Linked DNA regions of Homo sapiens: region 2 is linked to region 1. The links are contacts of gene promoters, found by promoter capture Hi-C in blood cells and fetal thymus (Javierre and others, 2016). All regions are on one chromosome and are shown on one strand. The core of a region is centred on a gene start or on the middle of the fragment in contact, and the rest is flanking DNA. Distances in the headings are between cores, read along the strand shown. Region 1 holds the start of C11orf24 (chromosome 11 open reading frame 24). Region 2 overlaps PPP6R3 (protein phosphatase 6 regulatory subunit 3).

Region 1 (5,352 bases), core at 1,712-4,211:
GTCCGTGTACTGGGTGACTTTATTCAACATAACTACTGCAAATACCAGAATTGACTATGATGAAACGGAGGCACAGAGCCTAAGCCTCTTGTTTGTTGTCATTTAGCAAAAAAATGAAGGATCTGAAGCCAGGCAGTGCCATTCCAGAGCCCTAACTTTCAAATGTCATATCTACAAGGTCTTACATTCAAATAACATTGTAAATTCAACAACAAAGAGACCAAGCTCCAAGTTTATTCAGCTATTTCTGCACAGAAGGCACCTGAAATGATCTGTGCCTGGAAACAAAAGGTAGAGGATGTAAGTGTATCATTCTCTATTTTATCCACAGCCCTCAGAAGCAGCTGGTCTGCCTGGCTTTACTCTCCATAACACTCCACAGAACAGTTTTGCAGTTCCCAGAGCTGTGCCTTCAATGGACACTAGGTTTCAGGTGACCAAAGATGCTATCAGAGAATATGACTTTCTCATAGGAGAGAATGAGTTTCCCGGTATGTTGGACCATCTCAGCCAGATATTTCTGTGTCAGAAACCCATCAGTAACACTCTAGACTGGAGATCAGCAAATAGATTCTGTAAAGGGCCAGAGAGTAAATATTTTAGGACTTGTGAGCCATATAGTCTCTACAACTAGTCGACTGTGCCCTTTTATCATCAGATAATACCTAATGAAGAGGCATGACTCTGTTCCAATAGAAATTTAAGAAAGCAGATGGGCTGGGCGCGGTGGCTCACGCCTGTAATCCCAACACTTTGGGAGTCCAAGGCGGGCGGATCACTAGGTCAGGAGATCAAGACCATCCTGGCTAACATGGTGAAACCCCGTCTCTACTAAAAATACAAAAAATTAGCTGGGCGTGGTGGCGGGCGCCTGTAGTCCCAGCTACTCGGGAGGCTGAGGCAGAAGAACGGCGTGAACCCGTGAGGCGGGGCTTACAGTGAGCCGAGATGGCGCCACTGCACTCCAGCCTGGGCGACAGAGCAAGACTCCGTGTCTAAAAAAAAAAAAAAAAAGCAAGCAGATGGAGGTCTAGCTGCCCAGCTGCTCTAGAGGAGAGGCTGTGTCTTATGTTTGTAATTTCAGCCCCAGCAGTAAAAATTGTCCCTATGTTGCCAAAGAGGAAATGAAAACAGAGTCACAGTCATTGATTTTTTTTTTTTTTTTTTTTTTTTTTTTTAGAAGGAGTCTCGCTCTGTCGCCCAGGCTGGAGTGCAGTGGTGAGATCTCGGCTCACTGAAGCCTCCCCCTCCCAAGTTCAAGCAATTTTCCTGTCTCAGACTCCCGAGTAGCTGGGAATACAGGCACACGCCACCACGCCTGGCTAATTTTTATATTTTTAGTAGAGACGGGTTTCACCATATCGGTCAGGCTGGTCTCAAACTCCTGACCTCAGGTGATCCGCCCGCCTTGGCCTCCCAAAATGTTGGGATTACAGGCGTGAGCCACCGCGCCCAGCCCAGTCATTGATTTTTGAAAAGGGCAGGCAAAGAACTAAAATCTGCCTGCCGATTGTATATTTTCACTTCTGGAGTGAGCCTCAATACTGTACTTCATGTTAGATCCGAACTAGTTGGAAAAATTAAAGCAAATACATAGTGAAAGGATCTGATCTTCACATGATCCAACCGGCGTTGGGTCTCAGCAAACCCAACTTTGCAGGTTAAATTCCACACATGAACTGTGGTTGAACTGGGGATGGTGGTGGTGACATCAAATCGCATTTCAGGTGCTCCCAGAGCTCGGAGTGGATGGTAGATCCTGTCTTTGCCCAATCTCAGCTTTCTGTGTCTCTTAGCTTCCTAGCCGAAGACCCCAAGGCAGGTTATAAAACTGGAAATAAAGTCTTGGTTTGCTCCTGTGAAATCATCCTTCGCAGACAGGTTTTGGTTTGGACCGGGGGATGCCTGAGGGTCTTATACAGACTGGGATTCAGTCACAGAACTACTAACTTGCAAAGCCTATTTCTTTCTTTCTTTTTTTTTTTTGGAGACAGAGTCTCGCTCTGTCGCCCAGGCTGGAGTGCAGTGGCACGATCTCTGCTCACTTCAACCTCCACCTCCCAGGTTCAAGCAATTCTCCTGCCTCAGCCTCCCGAGTAGCTGGGACTACAGGCGCACGCCACCACGCCCGGCTAATTTTTTGTATTTTAGTAGACACAGGGTTTCACCATGTTGCCCAGGCTGGTCTCGAACTCCTGAGCTCAGATAATCCGCCCGTCTCGGCCTCCCAAAGTGCTAGGATTACAGGCAAGAGCCACCGCGCCTGGCCTGCAAAGCCTATTTCTAACCAAAGTCAAGTCCCACACACTTGCCTCTAAATTGCGTTTTGCTCCTTTGTTATCCCAGGTTTTACAATTACAGAGCACTTGATGAGCCTGTTTCCACGTCTGTAAAATGAGGCGAAGTTCTTCACTGTGCTATTGCAGAATTAAGCCACTGGCTCTATAGGCAAAGTGCTTAGCACGGGCGTGGCACGCTGCGGGTGCACAGAAACGCTCGCTGCCACCCCACCCTTAACTACCGGGCACCCCAGCGCCCCGCCAGGGGCTGAAGAAACGTGGGAGGAAGCGGAGGAACGCGAAGGGCGTGTGCCCGCGAAAGGTCTCACGAGGCGTTTCGAGGTCGCCTCTTCAGGCTCGGCTGCCGACAAGGTGCCTCTGAGCTCACCCAGCCCAACCCGCGCACCCCGGGACCCCAAGACGGCAGCGGGCACAGCTGGGCAGCAGAGACCCGGGAACACCCACTTCCGCCACAGACCTGCTCAAAATAGCTCCTTCTGGCAGCGCGCAAGAAGTGGCCCGAGCCGGCCCCGGGGAGGCGGGGCCTGAGAGCAGACAACCCCCCCACTTCCGGCTCGCCTCCGTTCGCCACAGGCCCCGCCGCAGCCGCTCTTCGCCCCGGCCAGCAGGCCCGCCCCGCCCTCCGTGACGTCATTTCCGGCGTTTGGGCGGGGCCCGGGCAGGGCGCGCTGCCCGGAGCTGCCTGGGTTGCGCTGCCGGCCACGTCCCCGCGCCGGGCCTCAGGCTCCTTCCTACTGTCCGAGGGCCACCAGGCCGCCGGGGGCCTGCTGCGCCCGGGTAAGGGGCTCGCACTGCCGTCCGGGTAGCTGCTGTCAGGGCTCCCTGACTGGCTTGGGACTGAGAGACAGAGGTTGGGGGGCAGGAGGAGGGTTGGATGGGGGCACGAGGGGCAGTGGGAGAGTGAGTGGGGCTGAGAGAGGCAGGAGGAACGGGACAGGAGGAGCGGCGGATGGGGCACGCACAGAGTGCAAGACGCTGAGCAATGCAGGTACTGAAGAAGTCAACTGGGGGCCGAGCATGGCTGGGGGCCCAAGAGACAGGAGGAGGGAGGAGGGCCGAAGGGGGCCCAGACTGGAGAAGAGGCCGGCTTGTCCCATTGTGGGAGCAGAATGGGGACACTCTGGAAGGGGGCCGAATTTGTCCTGGGGTCTTTCCCGGGCAAGCCCAGGACGGGACTGGACCCCAAGAAGTGTCGCTCTTACTTGAGTGACACAGACCTATCCCCCAGACCCTCTCTCTACCTGGGTGGAGGTTGTGCATTGCCCCAGATTCCCTCCCCTGCCCATCTGTCTCCCTGCCTGCTTCCCCCGTGCGAGTCACTTAGTAGCCCCCGTGTGGCTGCTTAGCATGTTGACTTAATCGTTAGGCTGATAGGAGGAATCGGCCTCCACACGCATGGTTTGCCACCAGAAATAATCATCGTGCTTAGAAATCTGACTGTAATAACTTGCAGCTATCCCTCGCCCCAGGAAAATCTCTAACATTTCGATAAAATCAGCTAGGAAAATCTTTAAAATACAGATGTTTCCATTTATACAGTGGATCTGCCTAATGGACAAAGGAATGTCAGAGCTACCCACGTTCTTAGCAAAAACTAGGCCCTAGTATTTAGCTGTGTTACCAAAACTTCCAGAAACCTGGAAGCAAGCAAGGTAGTTAATGTAATATAATAAATGTCCAATGTTCTAGGTTCCCGTCTGCCACAGAGTCACATCCTTTGGACTACAGGACAATGTCTATATACACAAAGCCATAAGTCTGTGTTCCTTGGGCTTCTGCTACCAAAGTTCAGCCAGGTGACGTGTCAGGATTAGGTACCTGCAGTTTGCCCTGTATTTGTGTTTGCAGTTCCTACTCCTTGGTATCTGTAGCTTGCCTAACTTGGTGTGGGGGCCTGGCCATGTTGCGGCTGAGTGAGTCTTAATAGCCTGATAGAATGTGGGGGTAACAGCTGTAGTCCTTTACCAAGCTTCAGGATTGGTCTTTGGAACCTCTCTATGCCAGAAAAAAAGAATTAAGTTATTTCTTTCCCTTTTTTTTTTTTTTTAAGAGATGGGGTCTCACTATGTTGCCCAGGCTGAACTCAAACTTCTGGGCTTGTAATCCTCCCACCTCAGCCTCCTGAGTGTCTGGGATTACAGGCATGCAGCACCACGCCTGGAGTCCAGTTTTGTGTAACTTGCATAAAGTGCGCCACATATAACAAGCCAAGGTTCGGAACACAAGAATTCAGACAAGATGCCTTGGGAGGCATCTCGAGGTCATGAACCAGAAAAGGATAGGGAGGTTGACACCCAGGGGCATAGTTGGGGGTGCCTTTGTCATGGAGTGTCACATGGCTCAAGGGAGTATCCTGTTGCACCTTCCTTGCAGATCCTATGGGGAGCTGACCCCTGAAGAAGGGAGCTCCCAGTGCCAGCCTAACCTTCCGTCTTTCCATCTGCCCTGGTCTCCAACTTAATACAAACTTAATTCTCTCTCGCTCATTCCCCTCCTGCCCCTGGGGTCTCTTTTTTCCCATCTATTATGGTCTGAGACCCTGATCTACCCAGTCTCCCTGTACCACATAATAATGAGAATAACTGGTGGGGTCCCGAGACCCACATCCTAATTTTGGCTTGAAGCCTTTGCAGGGGAAACTGTTATTTTAAATGTTGTTAATGGTTTGTCCATCATGAGTCAACTTACATAGATGACCACAGGTTCCCGCATGGGATCTTGACATTTAGAATATTCTGTTGGAAAGTGGAGGCAGGACCATAGCAGAGGGATGAAGTCATAGGACAATGAAGGCCTGTTCTCGACTACACAGTGGCCAATTCCTGTTTCTGTGGGAGTGACCACCAGCCCCACCGGCTGGGAGGGAGTAAGTGGTGATGGTATCCAGCAGAAGTTTCCTGAGAAACCCGTGGAGTGTCCTGATATAGCCTTGTGGACCTGCTCCGTGTGTGTGCCCTCACCTTTGTGTGTGTGATTTTGCATGTGTATGTGTGTGCCTGTGTGAGTGCACATGTGTGGTGGCATGTGTGCATGTGCAGATGGACATATGTGC
Region 2 (5,397 bases), core at 2,755-5,254, 270 kb before region 1:
GCTACTCAGGAGACTGAGACAAGAGAGTTGCTTGAACCTGGGAGGCAGAGGTTGCAGTGAGCCGAGATCACGCCACTGCACTCCAGCCTGGGCGACAGAGTGAGACTCCCAACTCAAAAAAGAAAGGAAGAGGGAAAGACACAAAAGACAAGAAGAGAAGGCAGAGATGGGAGCCTGGGAGAAACCTTATTTTCAAGTTACTCACACCCTCCCCTCTTCCCACCCAAATTCTACCTGAGACATCTATTCAAGAGGCACACATCCTAAAAATCACCATCTGTCTACATTTTAAAATATGTCCTTCTCAAAGTAAACTCTGTTCTCCTTATCCTTTGCTCCTCTGTACCCATGAGAAGAGAATTACTTCTGAAGCCTGAATCCCTGGATACATCAACACCTCTCCGTTTTGACCTTCAGAGGTGGCCCTGAAGAGCGTGGCCTCATAACATACTCAAATGGGACTTAGAGCTCCCAACCCTCTCATTTCTGCTTTTACCATCAGAACCAGCTTCAAGACAAATGCTCAACCCATAAAGTCTCACCACCCCCATAAAAAGCAAACCAGCAAAAGGAAAAAATACTCACAACAAAACATCCTACATACCTAGGGATGTGCCCATCTGAAATTCTAGTTCTGCAAAATCTGGATCTCTTCCTATCTTGGAACAACCTTTCTTCCCCACCCTGTTACCGGCTCCCCAGACAACCCTCTGCTACCAACCCTAATCCCATGCATTCCTTCCCAGCACACAGCAGCCTGGTGGGCTCACATGCCAGCACCCTAACCCCAGTCAACAGCAGGTCAGAATTCTACTCACATTCAGCACATCTTGCCTGGGCTGTGGAGGTTCGATACACGTCAGGAGCCTGAGCAACAAATCCATGATAGCAGAAGTTCCTATGTGCTTTATAATAAGGTCTACAAAATCATGCTTCTTCTTTAAGAAATCCACAATCTAGAGAAGAACAGATCAGAAACTGAAAGACATGTAACTTGGAAACTATAAACTTTACCTTTTAAGTCCCAACCCCGACTCCTCCAAATTCTACCACTACTTTAGGTTGAGAAATGGCAAATGCTGAATTAGCAACAAGGTATCAAATTGGAAAGCCTGGCTAATAGTTACAATACTCAAAATACCCCTTGGAAAAAAATCCCCTAAATTAGCACGTCCATTAATACAAATACAACTTAACAGAATCTTTTATTTCTATTCACTTTCATTATTCATTCTCAAAGAATGGTGATCAAAAATTTAATATGCCTATAAAGAGCAAGAGAATATACCATTTTACAGTTTATGAACATAAAGCATGTCTGTTAGATTTTGCACTAAAATAAGTAATATTCAAAATCCTAACTGGACTCTAACAAGCATGAGAAAAAAATTTCAAAACAAAGATTTCTACTCTAGTCAAAATAACTAACTCACCTGGCTACACAAACATCGCCTTTGATTTTGACTTCACCAATTTACTCCAATAGCTTAGCACAAGAAGGGCAGCTGGTGGAGAGGCAGAGAGCTACCCTGAAGGAACGTGAGAATGGCCACGGAAATCAGGCCCCTGCTGCTGGTCTCTTCTGCTCTGGGAGACCAGGGAGATGACTCTGTCCCATGCATCCCTGTGTCCCATACAGCCTTGTTGCCTCTGCCTCTGTCCATGCGCACGTGTCATCTATTCCCAAACCCTCTGCGAGTCCCAGGGGGAGTGTCGCAGCTGCTATATAACAGGATCTCACTGAAATTTCTCAAAAGCTCTGGGGCGTGGGGGGTTGGATAACTCACCCCCACCGCCACACCCCATTAGAGATGAGGAAACCAAGGCTCAGAAACTATCTTCCAGAGCTAAAAGGTGGCTGCCTGGGATTTAAAATTGGATATGTATGCCACAAAAGCCACAATCTTTCCATTATGCCACATGAAGTCTAATAGCCAGAAATGACAACTAAAACTGCTTCATACAATTAGGTATAAATACAGGATTAACCAACACACATTGCTTCTCTAGACAATGAGGTCAAGCATTATGATATAAAACTTCAAGAAATGATATGACACATAAATAATTCACTCACAATTGGATCCCACAAGTTTTTAAAAGGACAGTAGAGGAGAAAGGACGAAAAAAGTCACATGTGTCCCAAGTATTCCGTAATTCAGTGCCAGAAACACCAAACCTGGAGCCCAAAGGAATAAATCCCAGCTAGTGTGGTGGACAGTACAGCACTGTCAACAGGGACCTGTGGCACAGATGACCCCGCTGGGGTGCTGACTCATGCAGCACTGAAGATGCCCCACCATCCGACTTCCTGTTCCATGAGCTAACAAATGCCTTTATTGGTTAAGCCAGTTGAGTCTCAATTTTTGTCCTTACAGTTGCATACACCCCTACTAATACTATCACATAACAGAAAACCTTTATTTACACTCCTAATTGGCAAAGGATAAAGAAATGCCAAGTTTGATCTTAACTCACAGCCACTGAATCCTCTTGCTATCATTCATACAGTCCTGACAGGGAAGTGTAACAAGCAAAAGGCCGAAGGGCTCTTGTCTCAGAACATAACTGGCAAGGTTTTAAGTGTATTCTCTCTCTTTATGTGTACACTGAAAATCGGGGCTCGCCAACTTGGATTCCAACAGCACAGAAGTGAGGAGAAAAAGCACAATGAAGCATAATGTCTGGATAATGGCTACAACAACCATCCCTGAGAACTGCCTGGTAATATCAGGGTGATAGGATGGCTTCCACTCTCCTAAAACAGCCAGCAGTTCTTGTATTTCTAACTAGAAGGCAGAAAAAAAGAGACAATCTACATTAATCATGATTTGGGGATTATTACCAAAGTGAAAAGAATCTCATTTCCAATCAACTTAGAAAGCTTATCCTACTCCATTAAGTGAAAGAAAGAAATATCTCTTTCTAAAATAAAGCATGTATCCACTTTGCCTTGGCATAGGACAGGACACACTGGGCCCAAAATAGCTCCAGTCCTTCCACAAGTGCTGATAGCAACAATGGGTCACCCAGAGCCATTTTCTATCATGAAGGATGGCAGGACCAACTGGTTTGACCACTTTTGCCCCGTATCATCACACCTATACTTGCAATTCTGGCAAATCTGCTATAGTTTATACTTGAATATCTGAGGCTCTAGTTGTTCCCTGAGTGCCTATTTCCATAAAATGACTAAAATCTCCAGATAAGCAGATCCTTTTTCACAACAATATCCACTAAAGCGGTGGTTCTCAAATGTTAGCATGCATCAGAGTTAGCTGGAAGGCTTGCTAAAACCCAGACTGCTGGGCCCATCTCTCAGAGTTTCTGATTCAGCAGGTCTGGAATAGGACTCAAGAACTTACATTTCTAACAAATTCTCAGGTAATACTGAGGGGCTGCTGGTTCAGGGACCACACTTAGAGAACCAAGTGAAGTTTCTGTCAAACCACACTGGATAGGAACAGCACAGCTGCAAATGTACACAGCAGTCTATACACTCAGATGTCTCAAGCCTGACACTGGAGAAGTTTTGAGTAGAATCAAAACAGAATCACCATTAGTACAAACCAATCACCAATTACATTTGTGGGAAAGGTTTTTGGTTTAAGCTTCATCTCTGATCATCAATGGGGGAAAAACAAAACAAAGCAATTGTTTGGTGACATATTCAACTGCTTAGTTATTATACTTGCCATCTTAGTTAAGCCCTGTCTTCACAAATGGGTACCCAATATTCTCATCTTCTACCCACTTCTCAAAAGAGGAAACTAAAGTATGCTAACAAATTAAGTGAAATTTGAGATTATGCCATATTAGAAATATTCATTAACATACAAATAGTATGTGAGTGCTTAGAATGTTTAAGGTTTAAAATACATTCTCTTATACAACCTGAACTTAAGGCAAAGTTAGAACTCTTAAAGCAACAAGTACTGGGGGATCACCTCAAGGGGATGATCAGCCCTAATACTTACCTTTTGGAAAATCATATTTACCTGTTCTGGTTTTCTGCTGATAAGAATACTTAGCACCTTGCTGAAGAAACTGGCAAGTAGTGGATTCAAAGGGGAATCGTTTAGGAGGAAGCTATATAATTTCATTAGCAAGGATTCATCTTCTCCCAGTCTATCATTCATCTGGGAGACATCAGAAGTGAGCAACTCACAAGATATATTTGGATACCTAGAAGAACAGGATATTTACATCATCATCTTTATTAACAGTTTAATTACATAAAGATAAACACAAATCAGAAAGGCTTCCCAAGATTTTGTGAAAAAAATAAAATCGTTTACTGGAAATCAGGAAATCATTTCAATCCATTCTGTTCAACCTACCTCCAGACTAAAATAAATTTTCTACTATCTAAAAAATTGTTTTTAAACCAAGCTTTAACAAGAATACATTTTCCCTGAAGAAACTAGAGCGCACCTAGTACTCAGAAGCCCAGAGAGGTCATGCTGCAGGGCCCGGGCCTTCTCCACGATCAGCGAGGAAAGCGGCTGGACGTACGAGCCATCAGGCTACAGCCTCCTCTGGCATGGGAAGCAGCAAAGCTTGCGGACAACTGTGGAGGACACTGGTTTCCAGGAAACTGCACTGCATGCAGCACCTTGTAATGACTTAAGGCACTCTGTAGGGACCTGGACCAGCCTTTATCTTTAGATGGGTTGTAAATGGTACTAAGTCTATATTACATCTTAAGAGAGTAAGCATCCTACTATAATGAAGGGGGGAACAGGACATCAGCCTGGGCTACCAAGGCAGGAAGCAGTATACAAAAAAAATGTTGTCCTAGCTATTTAGGAGGCTGAGATTAGAGGATCACTTGAGCCCACAAGTTTGAGGCTACAAAGAGCTATGACTGTTGCACTCCAGCCTGGGCAAGAGTGAGACCTTGTGTCAAAACCAAAACAAAACAAAACTAGTGCTCTCCACATCAGCCTTCCAGTATCTGGATATCAGCACAGACACAAAGTCAGCCCACCATGAGTCTTCACCATGCTGTCTCTCCTGTAGAAGGCCCACGGCTAAGAACATGACACCTGCTCTATATGGACCCACACAGGCTCTTCTACAGACCCCATGGCTTTAGAAATGCTTGCCTCTGACAACCAGACCACTGACCCTCTGCAAACAGGCAGCAGGTCCATTTCCTCCACTTACTCCTACTATGACAATCTCGTGTCTGTTTTCACTAGCAACAACAGAGACGTTGAGCCTATCCAGACGATACTCTAGCTGACCCAGAATTACTCTGCTCTTACACTCCTCCCTGCTGGACAGCCAGGACCCAGCGCCCCAACAAGTCATCAGGAGTGGCAAGCTCAAAAGCTGAGCAAGACAGAGAGATGGCAAAATAGCCAAACGTGGCTGCATGACAAAAGAAACCAG

The links. Contacts are between HindIII fragments. The CHiCAGO score rates a contact against its expected background, and 5 or more counts as called.
Region 2: a fragment that was not itself captured here is called in contact with the fragment with the promoter of C11orf24 in region 1 in 1 of 17 cell types (endothelial precursors); the score reaches 5.5 in endothelial precursors.

What each region holds. Positions count from the first base shown.
Region 1 is chr11:68,269,582-68,274,933 of GRCh38, reverse strand. C11orf24 (chromosome 11 open reading frame 24) reads left to right here and starts at 2,961. Exons shown (of 4, transcript NM_022338.4): 1 at 2,961-3,077. It overlaps LOC105369363 (a long non-coding RNA gene), which reads right to left and starts at 2,832. Exons shown (of 3, transcript XR_950248.3): 1 at 2,758-2,832. RefSeq lists silencers at 825-884, 2,764-3,163 and an enhancer at 1,998-2,852. The HindIII fragment of the contact is 7,211 bases long and covers 1-4,271 here.
Region 2 is chr11:68,543,626-68,549,022 of GRCh38, reverse strand. It overlaps PPP6R3 (protein phosphatase 6 regulatory subunit 3), which reads right to left. Exons shown (of 24, transcript NM_001164161.2): 4 at 3,999-4,185; 5 at 819-956. Among named protein-coding and RNA genes, the nearest start is that of PPP6R3, 86 kb to the right of the region's middle. RefSeq lists enhancers at 4,772-5,272, 5,273-5,397. The HindIII fragment of the contact is 781 bases long and covers 3,614-4,394 here.